Linked DNA regions of Homo sapiens: region 1 is linked to region 2. Evidence: promoter capture Hi-C in 16 types of primary human blood cells and fetal thymus (Javierre and others, 2016). All regions are on one chromosome and are shown on one strand. Each heading gives the region's core, a stretch centred on a gene start or on the middle of the fragment in contact. The rest is flanking DNA. Distances are from core to core; before and after follow the strand shown.

Region 1 (4,744 bases), core at 480-2,979, 430 kb after region 2:
TTGAGACCATCCTGAGCAACACAGGGAGACATCCATCCCTGGAAAAAAAAAATTTTTTTTAATTAGCCAGGCCTGGTGGCTTAAGCCTGTAGTCCCAGCTACTTGGAAGGCTGAGGTAGGAGGATCGCTTGAGCCTGGGAGGTCAAGGCTGCAGTGAGCCATGATTGGCCCATGGCACCCCAGCCTGGGTGACAGAGCAAGACCCTGAGGAAGGAAGGAAGGAAGGAAGGAAGGAGGGAGGGAGGGAGGGAGGGAGGGAGGGAAGGAAGAGAGAGAGAGAGAGAAAGAAAGAAAGAGAAAGAAAGGAAAGAAGGAAAGAAAGGAAAGGAGGAAGGAAGGATGGAAGGACAGAAGGAAGGAAGGGAAAGAAAGAAAGAGGGAAGGAAGGAAGAAAGAAAAAGAAAAGCAAGGAAAGAAAGAAGGAAAGAAAAGAAAGAAAGGAAAGGAGGAAGGGAGGAAGGAAGGATGGAAGGAAGGGAAAGAAAGAAGGAAGGAAGGAAGAAAGAAAGAAAAGAAAAGCAAGGAAAGAAAGGAAAGAAGGAAAGAAAAGAAAGAAAGGAAAGAAGGAAGGGAGGAAAGAAGGAAGGAAGGAAAGAAAAGAAAGGAAAGAAAGAAAGAAAAAAGAAAGAAGGAAGGAAGGAAAGAAAGAAAAAGAAAGAAAGAAAGAAAGAAAGAAGAGAAAGAAAGAAAGAAGAGAAAGAAAGAAAGAAGAAAGAAAGAAAGAAAGAAAGAAAGAAAGAAAGAAAGAAAGAAAGAAAGAAAAGAAAGAAAGAAAGAAAGAAAGAAAGAATCCCTGTTTGAAAATATTACCTAGTAAGGGATAGAGGACTCTGTATTACACAATGAAAAGTGAAAAATGCCAGAGAAAAAATTAAATGAATATGCTATTCCCCTATGACACAGGACAGAGCCAGAGATGGGAAGTGAAGGGCAAATGAGGGTGATGAGCCACTCCTTCCGAGCCAACTCGTCCTATCGCACTTGCTCTGAGCAGAGTGTTCCAAACACTTTATCAAAAATAATACGTTATTGAAGTTCAGAGAAAGAATAACCTCTTATCAGATATAGCAAAGAAGGATTCTTGGAAAGGAGACATCTAAAGTTCGACTTTGAAAGATTGGTAAGATTTAAACATGAAGGTTTCAGGCAGAAGAAGCCACCTTAGTCAAAGGAGTGAGGCAGAAAATTACAAAGTAAGTCAAGGAAAGGAGAAAAAGTTGATGTTCACATAAGTGAAGGGAAGATATTACATAAAGTGGCAGATGGCTTTAAAATGCCTGGCTCACGAGTTTAGAATTGACTTGGTAGGCAGTGGGAAGCTATTGAAAACTTTTAAGCAGGAGAGGAACATGATGTGAATTACACTTTGAGAGGGTGAAATTGTTTAAAATAGTGTTTAAGATAGATTGGGTTGGAAAGAGAAGGAAGTCTCTGGAACTGTGCTCAAAGCTTAGTGTTCAGTGGCCCAGCCCAGCTCACAGACCCGTTTTATTTGGCACAAAGACTATTGGTCAATATTTAATAATCCCATAAAATGTTAGATTTCTGGTTTCTCTCTAAAACAGTAAAATGATCAGACAATGTTGGGCTGCCATTTCCCTGTGACAATAAAGCTACAAGAATTGAGTAGCAGCTGCCACCTTCAGATGGACTACATATTTTCCATTTCCCAAGTCCCATGCACCCCCTCTTGTCTTCCTAACACAAAGGCCATGTGTCAGCTGCCAGTCATCCCTGCCTGTGTTGGGAGAGTGTCGTTTTCTTACTTCGGGCCCCCTTCGTTAATTTCTGTGGCCTCCCTGGCCCTTGAGGGCAATTTGCATTTGTGAATGTGAGTCCAGAGGTAGGGAAAACAGTCAGACGTGAAGTGATTGGGGCTTTCATCAGGGATTAGAGCATAGGAATGAAAAAGGGCATGTGCAGGAAATATTTGTCCTGTGCTTTTACAGATCTCAACCAACTTTAGCACACAACATGAGAAGCGCTAACAACATGGACAAAAAGCTTATAATTATAAAGATTTTTACTGCATTTCCTCCGAAAAGTAACTGTAATGTATTCAAAAAGTTATTCTTCTGTGTTCTTTTATAAATGTTTGTAGAGTAATGAATGCTGTTATAAATATTATATCAAGTTCTTAGAAAATCATTCATGACTCAGTTTCTCCAGCTATAAATTGTAATTGCCAATGAATTACCCCATAGTAAATTGTGTTTTTTTCAGGCATGAGATGTGTTTCAGTCAATTGGTGAGGATCATTAGTAAAAGGGCAAAATTGGTTCAGGGGTAGCTAGAATTCTATTCTTTTATATATAAAACACAGATACAGATAATATTATATAAATAGATATACGGTGTATCTGGAGTATTAAAATTTCATGGTGGGAGGAGACATTCAGGAAAAAAATGTTCAAAAAGCTCCTTGGGGGAGTGACAATGAAAAGAAATTTTTAAGAAATACTGAGCTAGCGAGGACAGGCATTGTGCAAATCATTCATTTTTGTCTCATTTCAAGTTGCCAGCCAGTTAATGCCAATGTAGACTCTAAACAGTCCGAATTTGGCTCGCCTAACATTTGCTAGAGACAAAGCCTCAGCTGCATCCCTGACGTTGTACAATCAGACCACGCAAAATCTAACAAACCCATTGCTCCTTCACAAGGGAAATATCAACAAAAATACAAATACCGTTGCTCAAAACCAACAAGAAAACACAACCATTGGAGCAAATTTCCAGAATAGGCTTTGCGTCATTGCACAAGCAGTACTTCTTAGTCTAAAACATCTTGCTCTGGGAACTGAACACTACAGCCAAGAAAACATCAGACATTTGGAGAAGAGCGGCGTTTGGCTAATAACAGCAAAGTGACCTCACCCATGAGAAGGCCCAAGTATAAACTTCTGTCTTGGTGAATAAGACGCAGCCTGCAAGTCAAATGCACAGAAATATAAAGTTCAGCTGCACCTCACTTGGACAAGAGATCTGTACACCAGGCGATTTGATACATTGGGTTCTGTGTCTATCCCAAGGTGAGGTCAGAATGAAAGAGTAGCTACATAGCTCATGCGGTTATTACCCAGCCAACCCAAATTCTCCCAAACTCAATGAGGGCTCTGTCTGAGAAAAGACAACGGCATAAAACTCAAGGAATTTATGTGAGCAGCTGCTGTGTTTGCATAGCTTGACTAAAGGGATATGTTTCACCCCTCTGCCTAAAAATCGTCATTCTTCACATATAGTATTAGCAGTTCATGTGAAAAGAGGAGGCGTTCTATATCCTATTACAGAGGTTCCTTGACACAATCTTCAACAATATTCAGCTTTCTTTCTTTTTTTTATTTTATTATTATTATGCTTTAAGTTTTAGGGTACATGTGCACGATGTGCAGGTTAGTTACATATGCATACATGTGCCATGCTGGTGTGCTGCAGCCATTAACTCGTCATTTAGCATTAGGTATATCTCCCAGTGCTATCCCTCCCCCCTCCCCGCACCCCACAACAGTCCCCAGAGTGTGCTCTTCCCCTTCCTGTGTCCATATGTTCTCATTGTTCAGTTCCCACCTATGAGTGAGAATATGCGGTGTTTGGTTTTTTGTTCTTGCGATAGTTTACTGAGAATGATGATTTCCAATTTCATCCACGTCCCTATAAAGGACATGAACTCATCATTTTTTATGGCTGCTAGTATTCCATGGTGTATATGTGCCACATTTTCTTAATCCAGTCTATCATTGTTGGACATTTGGGTTGGTTCCAAGTCTTTGCTATTGTGAATAATGCCACAATAAACATACGTGTGCATGTGTCTTTATAGCAGCATGATTTATAGTCCTTTGGGTATATACCCAGTAATGGGATGGCTGGGTCAAATGGTATTTCTAGTTCTAGATCCCTGAGAAATCACCACACTGACTTCCACAAGGGTTGAACTAGTTTACAGTCCCACCAACAGTGTAAAATTGTTCCTATTTCTCCACATCCTCTCCAGCACCTGTTGTTTCCTGACTTTTTAATGATTGCCATTCTAACTGGTGTGAGATGGTATCTCATTGTGGTTTTGATTTGCATTTCTCTGATGGCCAGTGATGGTGAGCATTTTTTCATGTGTTTTTTGGCTGCATAAATATCTTCTTTTGAGAAGTGTCTGTTCATGTCCTTCACCCACTTTTTGATGGGGTTGTTTGTTTTTTTTCTTGTAAATTTGTTTGAGTTCATTGTAGATTCTGGATATTAGCCCTTTGTCAGATGAGTAGGTGGCGAAAATTTTCTCCCATTTTGTAGGTTGCCTGTTGAGAAAAACAAGCAATGGGGAAAGGATTCCCTATTTAATAAATGGTGCTGGGAAAACTGGCTAGCCATATGTAGAAAGCTGAAACTGGATCCCTTCCTTACACCTTACACAAAAATTAATTCAAGATGGATTAAAGACTTAAACGTTAAACCTAAAACCATAAAAACCCTAGAAGAAAACCTAGGCATTACCATTCAGGACATAGGCATGGGCAAGGACTTCATGTCTAAAACACCAAAAGCAATGGCAACAAAAGCCAAAATTGACAAATGGGATCTAATTAAACTAAAGAGCTTCTGCACAGCAAAAGAAACTACCATCAGAGTGAATATTCAGCTTTCTTATTGGCCTTCATCATCATCGCCATTATTATCATATATTGAACCCCAGTCTAGTCATGAATTGGGCAAAGCACTATGCAAACATCATCTCTTTTCCTCGCAGCTACCC
Region 2 (5,063 bases), core at 138-2,637:
TACCTGCTTTTCCTCAGAACTTCCAGAATCAGCCTGTTTAACCTTAGAAACAGAAAAGATGAAGAAAGATTACAAGAATGTCCTCCTAGCACATGGAAGCACACAATTCAGTTATTTTCAGGAATTTTCTTTAAGATGCAACTGTACTCACTGGTATGGCACAGGTGATGCCTAGGAGGCAAAAGCAAATCACTGCAATTCTCATGGTAGTGAGTTTTCCTGCAAAATATTTCATAAGGAATAGCTGACATCTTCATAGGTTACAACAGTGATACCTTTTTATACTACCACATTACAAAATGATCACAAATAAAATATATTTTCTATAGAATCTTTTCTACTTCTTAGAGATGCCTTTTCTTTTTAGTATTATAGTCTTTCAAGTTAATATTTATATTGCCACCTATTATCCATCTTTCACTATTAGGCAAGGGAAAGGGAAATTTTGCAAGTCTGTATTTATTCAACTTTAAAATTTAGAGTTCCAGAAATTATACCATTACTACCTTATATATCTAGCTCTCTAAACCTACAAACAGATCAACAGTAACTTAATTATATTAATAAGCTAGTATGGGAATATTTTTTAGAGAAGAAAAAACTCACAGAAAAAAATGAAAAAAATTTGCTTTATCCATTTTTCCAACATGTACTTTAAATGTGACTTTTAGCTTAATTATCAAGTAGGTGCTACTTAGGTGAAATCAAACTATCTCTGAAATTTGTTATTTAAGTAAGATGTTCTAAAAATTTGAAATTCAAAGGAAAACATTGAAAATAGCCAACAGCTTTTCTATTTGTAATAATAAGCCTACACAGTGTCATACAGGTATCTTGGTGAATATTTTAACAGCTAAATTTAGCAGTGGCATATTCAGAAAGGGTTTTCTTCCCCTTAAAAGTGAGATACATCATTTAAAAAATAGCATTGTAATTGGTTTAATTAGCATAAAAGATCCCTTTTCTTTTAAATTCCTGCACAGTCACCCACTGAAAATTATATAGGTATAATTATTCCAAAGGGGAATTTAATTTTACTATTTTCTGATTAGCATCGGTGGTTTCCGTTCTTTTGAGGACCCAGTGGAAGTATTTTTAAGTTTTAAATTTGATTGGCATTCAAAATATCTAGACACCTTTGTTCCAGGAGACCTGCAATGTATCTAATCTGCTTATTAAAAAGGCTAGAAAATTTAAGTCTGTTTAACAGCATTACAATTAAAAATATTTTTCCTTAGAATTTGGACTTCCCCATGAAATTCAGCTGAATGCACAACCCAGTAGCAAACTGAAGCTGTACCTTGGTCGGCGTTTGGCTGAGAAGGCTGCAACTGGCCTGAGACGAGTCTGGTCCCGACGATGCTGTGCTCTGCCTCCTCCTGCTGCTGCTGACAACCAAGCCCTCCCAGAATTTAAATGCTGCTGCAGACATCCTCCACCAACACAGGGAGGCGGAGAGATTGTGTCATGAGGTTTTCTGCCACTGCCCAGCCCACCTGCTCCCACACTTCCCCCTCTGGTTTTGTGGTTAAAACAAAAAAAAACAAAAACGCACACACACAATCTACAGTTAAAACATTACTTATGTACAATATCATTAACTAGCTTTTTCATTTACGGGATGGGCATTCAGCATCCAGGAAGAGCACTTAGGGATCCCATGAAAAAGGGAGAAAGTAGGGAAAAACATTAATGTAAAATTAAATAGAATGGATTTTTGTTTCTTTCGGTTTAAGTAACATAAAGGTAATATCTGCAACCACTCTTGCCTGTATGATTGTACTTATTGAAGAGCCAGAAGGCTATTGTTCAAGCCTGCAAGGAGTTCAGAAAACTTGCCTCTGTCCTTTACTACTCAAGCTTAGCTTTGTGATTTCGAGTATGCAGTAGCTTGTTACTTAGACAAATGGCACTAGTGACATTAAAATATAAAATTCTATATGAAATAGAAGAATGGTAATTTATTCTAGATGTTGCAGAAGTAAAGCAGTTTCTGACTGAGAGCAGGATGACTGCTTGAGAGGGCTGCTTCAGGAGCCAGACCGTGGTTCTGAATTCCGCTGTGTCACTGCTGACCTGTGCAACCTTGGGCAAATCGCCCAGCCTACCTATCCTTGTTCCCTCATCCATGAAATGCAATACTATTACCTAGGTCATGGGGTTTTTGAGGGGTTTAAATGAATTAGTATGTTAAACTAGCAATGCTTAGCACATATTAGATGCAAATGCTCTGCGTATCTTAAGGACTATATGTGTGTTAACTATTATGAAATTTTTAAGAGGGGCAGGCAGTCACGAATTGTAATGTCCTTTAAAAGAACAGGTTATTAAAATGAGAGTAGACGTAAGATCTTTAAATTGTATGCATCAATAAGGAAATTTTGCACATTTCTAAAGGAACAGATTCGATTTTGGAATCATCTTTTTTTCTAGTTTTTCTCCCAAGGTATGTAAAGTAGGCCACTTAAAAAGAAAAACATTTTTAAAAATTTCTGTATTAAAAAACACTTTACTAGGTATTTAAAAGGTGTCTGAATGAAAGAAAATTACAGGGAAAGTCCGAATATTAGAGCAGAATTCAGGGATAGCAGAGCTCTGGGTCCTTTTAAAATATTTAATATTGCCTTGAGATTACTTATCTTCATTTGCTTTCTCAGTTGTGAAATGCAGATTGCACTATTTATTTACCTTACACCTTTATTGTTAAGACTTGTGTGTAATTGAGATGAAAAATAAATGGTCCTATTTATTATTAGGTTGCTGCAAAAGTAATTGTGGTTTTTATTAGTCCTAAAGTGTCAGCTTCCTTTTGCCAAATATTACTTTTAATATAAATATAGATTAAATAATGTCTTGCAGTGATAGTGTATAGCTAATTCATAGGTTTCATGAACATTTGGTAGGGGGAAATATGTCTCCCTTAAATTGGATGTATTCCAGATGAATTGATATGATTGGTTTGTAGGTAATAAGCACCCATTTTAATAAGTAAGATGACGACTATCTCTATAAAATAGAAAGCACACAGATTATAAAGTTGCAAAATAGACTTCTTTTTTCTGCTTCTAAAAACTATTTTTTTCCTTTAAACATACCCGCATAAGCGTGTCATGTTGTCAATTTAGTGGAGGGAAGTCTGAAAATTCTAAAAACAACAAAATTTCCACAGGATTTACTGTAGTTTACTCTGTGCCCACGGGAATGATTCAATATGAAGCTAGAATTAATTATAGGAATAGATTATGCTGGAGCCCAGCCATCTTGAGATGAACCATACGACCCTTTACAGGACTCTTCTGGTCATAGCTCCGCAGTGCCACACGATGGCAGCATTTCTGAAAAAAGATTTCAGACCACAATCTGGTTCTACCAATTTTCTTAATTCCAGCGGGATAGAACACTCCTGTATTTAATGACAGGACTATATACAGCTGTGGAGCTCTCCATTTCTTGGAATGCCAGGTGAGGAAATATTTCCCAACAATGACCCGCTATGCAATCAGGGACAGAGACCCAGAGAACCAAAGCGTTCTTGTTTTGCTCTGTTGTTGCCTTAGGCAATCCCAAGTTGACACTATTGTCTCCTTCCCGACTTCTACACTCATTCAAAAAGTTCCTAGTCCCAAGGCCTCTCTCAGAGAAAAGGCTTGTGAATTCACGGGTAAAGAATGTGTCTGGGATGCTTTGGAGTTGAGAAGATAAAGTGATTTATAATGGGAGGCAATTCTGTAAAGTAGGAAATGGATGCTGCGTCATTCTGACTATCGGGGAGGTCATGTTTTGGGATGTTTCTTGCTGTTTGCACTCAAACATGCTGCTGCTGGTTGTTTTTTCTGAGTAGGATTTTCTGTCAGAATTAACATGTTAAATGATTTAAATCACAGTGGCTCTATCTGTAATATTTCCAAAGTTTCCATTCTTGATTGGCTAATGATTGGTTGTTAGAATCAAAAGGTCAAAATGCACAAATTCCCTATAAATCTTGTGAGTGGAAAGTAAAAAAAGTTTAGTTGTCAAACTAGAATGCAAAGAGTAATTTGTGATCTTAAATTATACACACTAAGAGGACACATGGAAACAAATAAAGAGCCTTAAGGTCTTTTTCCTGAATTACATGAAAATTCCCATATAATAAAAAGTAAGTGTTCAATGTCACTACTTTGGTGGACAACTTTATTAAACTCACTTCCAGTTTATTTGAACATTTCTAATTATATTTTACTTAGTAAAGTGTAACCAACTATTTCAGTGTTTTCAGCTCCACAGGTAATTATTTTTTTCCCTTGAGTCAAGGTTCAGACATGACTCTGATATTTTGGTAACACCACTAATCTGTCATAAAGAAGTTTGGAATTAAAGCTAATCGGAAGCCTAGCACCATTCATCATATATAGACTGGGAAAAGGGGCATTATTTATCACAGGGTAGCAAGCAAAGGTGGATGATAAGAGGGTGCTATTTTCAAGTTCAGACATGAAATTAGAGCATTTCAGAAATACAAAAAAAAAAAAACAAAAACACCATAAACTCTTTTATTCCATTGCTCAATAGCTTAGACAACAAAAGTCAGCTCCTGACAAAGTGGTCGTACCATTGGTAAACATTAGTTTCAATTTAAAACAAATAAAAAAAAGTTTTCCTTTAGACACATAGAACTGTTATGGAGTAAGTGCTCAATAAATTGTTGGTGATTGCCCACTCAGCCCTGCATCTATGACACGAATTCTGACCTTATAGTTTTTGCTTATGAATACAATGCATAGGCACTATGCTTGAATTCAGAGTATATCTCATATATTGATATCTAATATCTGCCTGTACTCAAGAATCTAGCATTTATTTCTTCATTAAAGTAGTATTAGTAACTCTGAGGACATTCTAATGCTCTTTAAATGATAGACTTTTTTAAGGTAGACTTAAATTACTAACTTTTTTTTCTTAAATGACACCATTCTTACCCTCATGGAGCCCATTTGTTCATGAAAATCAACTAGGAAATTTGAAACTTGAGTAACCAATGAGATTAAGGGGGTGTGGCTAAACAGTAAACTTGGCAGCACCCT

What was found. Contacts are between HindIII fragments. The CHiCAGO score rates a contact against its expected background, and 5 or more counts as called.
Region 1: a fragment that was not itself captured here is called in contact with the fragment with the promoter of SPP1 in region 2 in 2 of 17 cell types (endothelial precursors and megakaryocytes); the score reaches 7.8 in endothelial precursors.

The regions. Positions count from the first base shown.
Region 1 is chr4:87,538,695-87,543,438 of GRCh38, reverse strand. No RefSeq gene overlaps it. Among named protein-coding and RNA genes, the nearest start is that of SPARCL1, 12 kb to the right of the region's middle. The HindIII fragment of the contact is 555 bases long and covers 1,452-2,006 here.
Region 2 is chr4:87,972,038-87,977,100 of GRCh38, reverse strand. SPP1 (secreted phosphoprotein 1) reads right to left here and starts at 1,387. Exons shown (of 7, transcript NM_001040058.2): 1 at 1,301-1,387; 2 at 152-219; 3 at 4-42. The coding sequence starts at 205. LOC124900730 (a long non-coding RNA gene) reads left to right here and starts at 3,332. Exons shown (of 2, transcript XR_007058172.1): 1 at 3,332-3,462. RefSeq lists cis regulatory regions at 1,392-1,401, 1,436-1,445, 1,620-1,635, 2,073-2,081, 2,148-2,156 and 1 more, enhancers at 1,414-1,484, 1,247-1,746, 2,109-2,129 and promoters at 1,301-1,514, 1,304-2,391, 1,391-3,633. The HindIII fragment of the contact is 2,498 bases long and covers 1-1,862 here.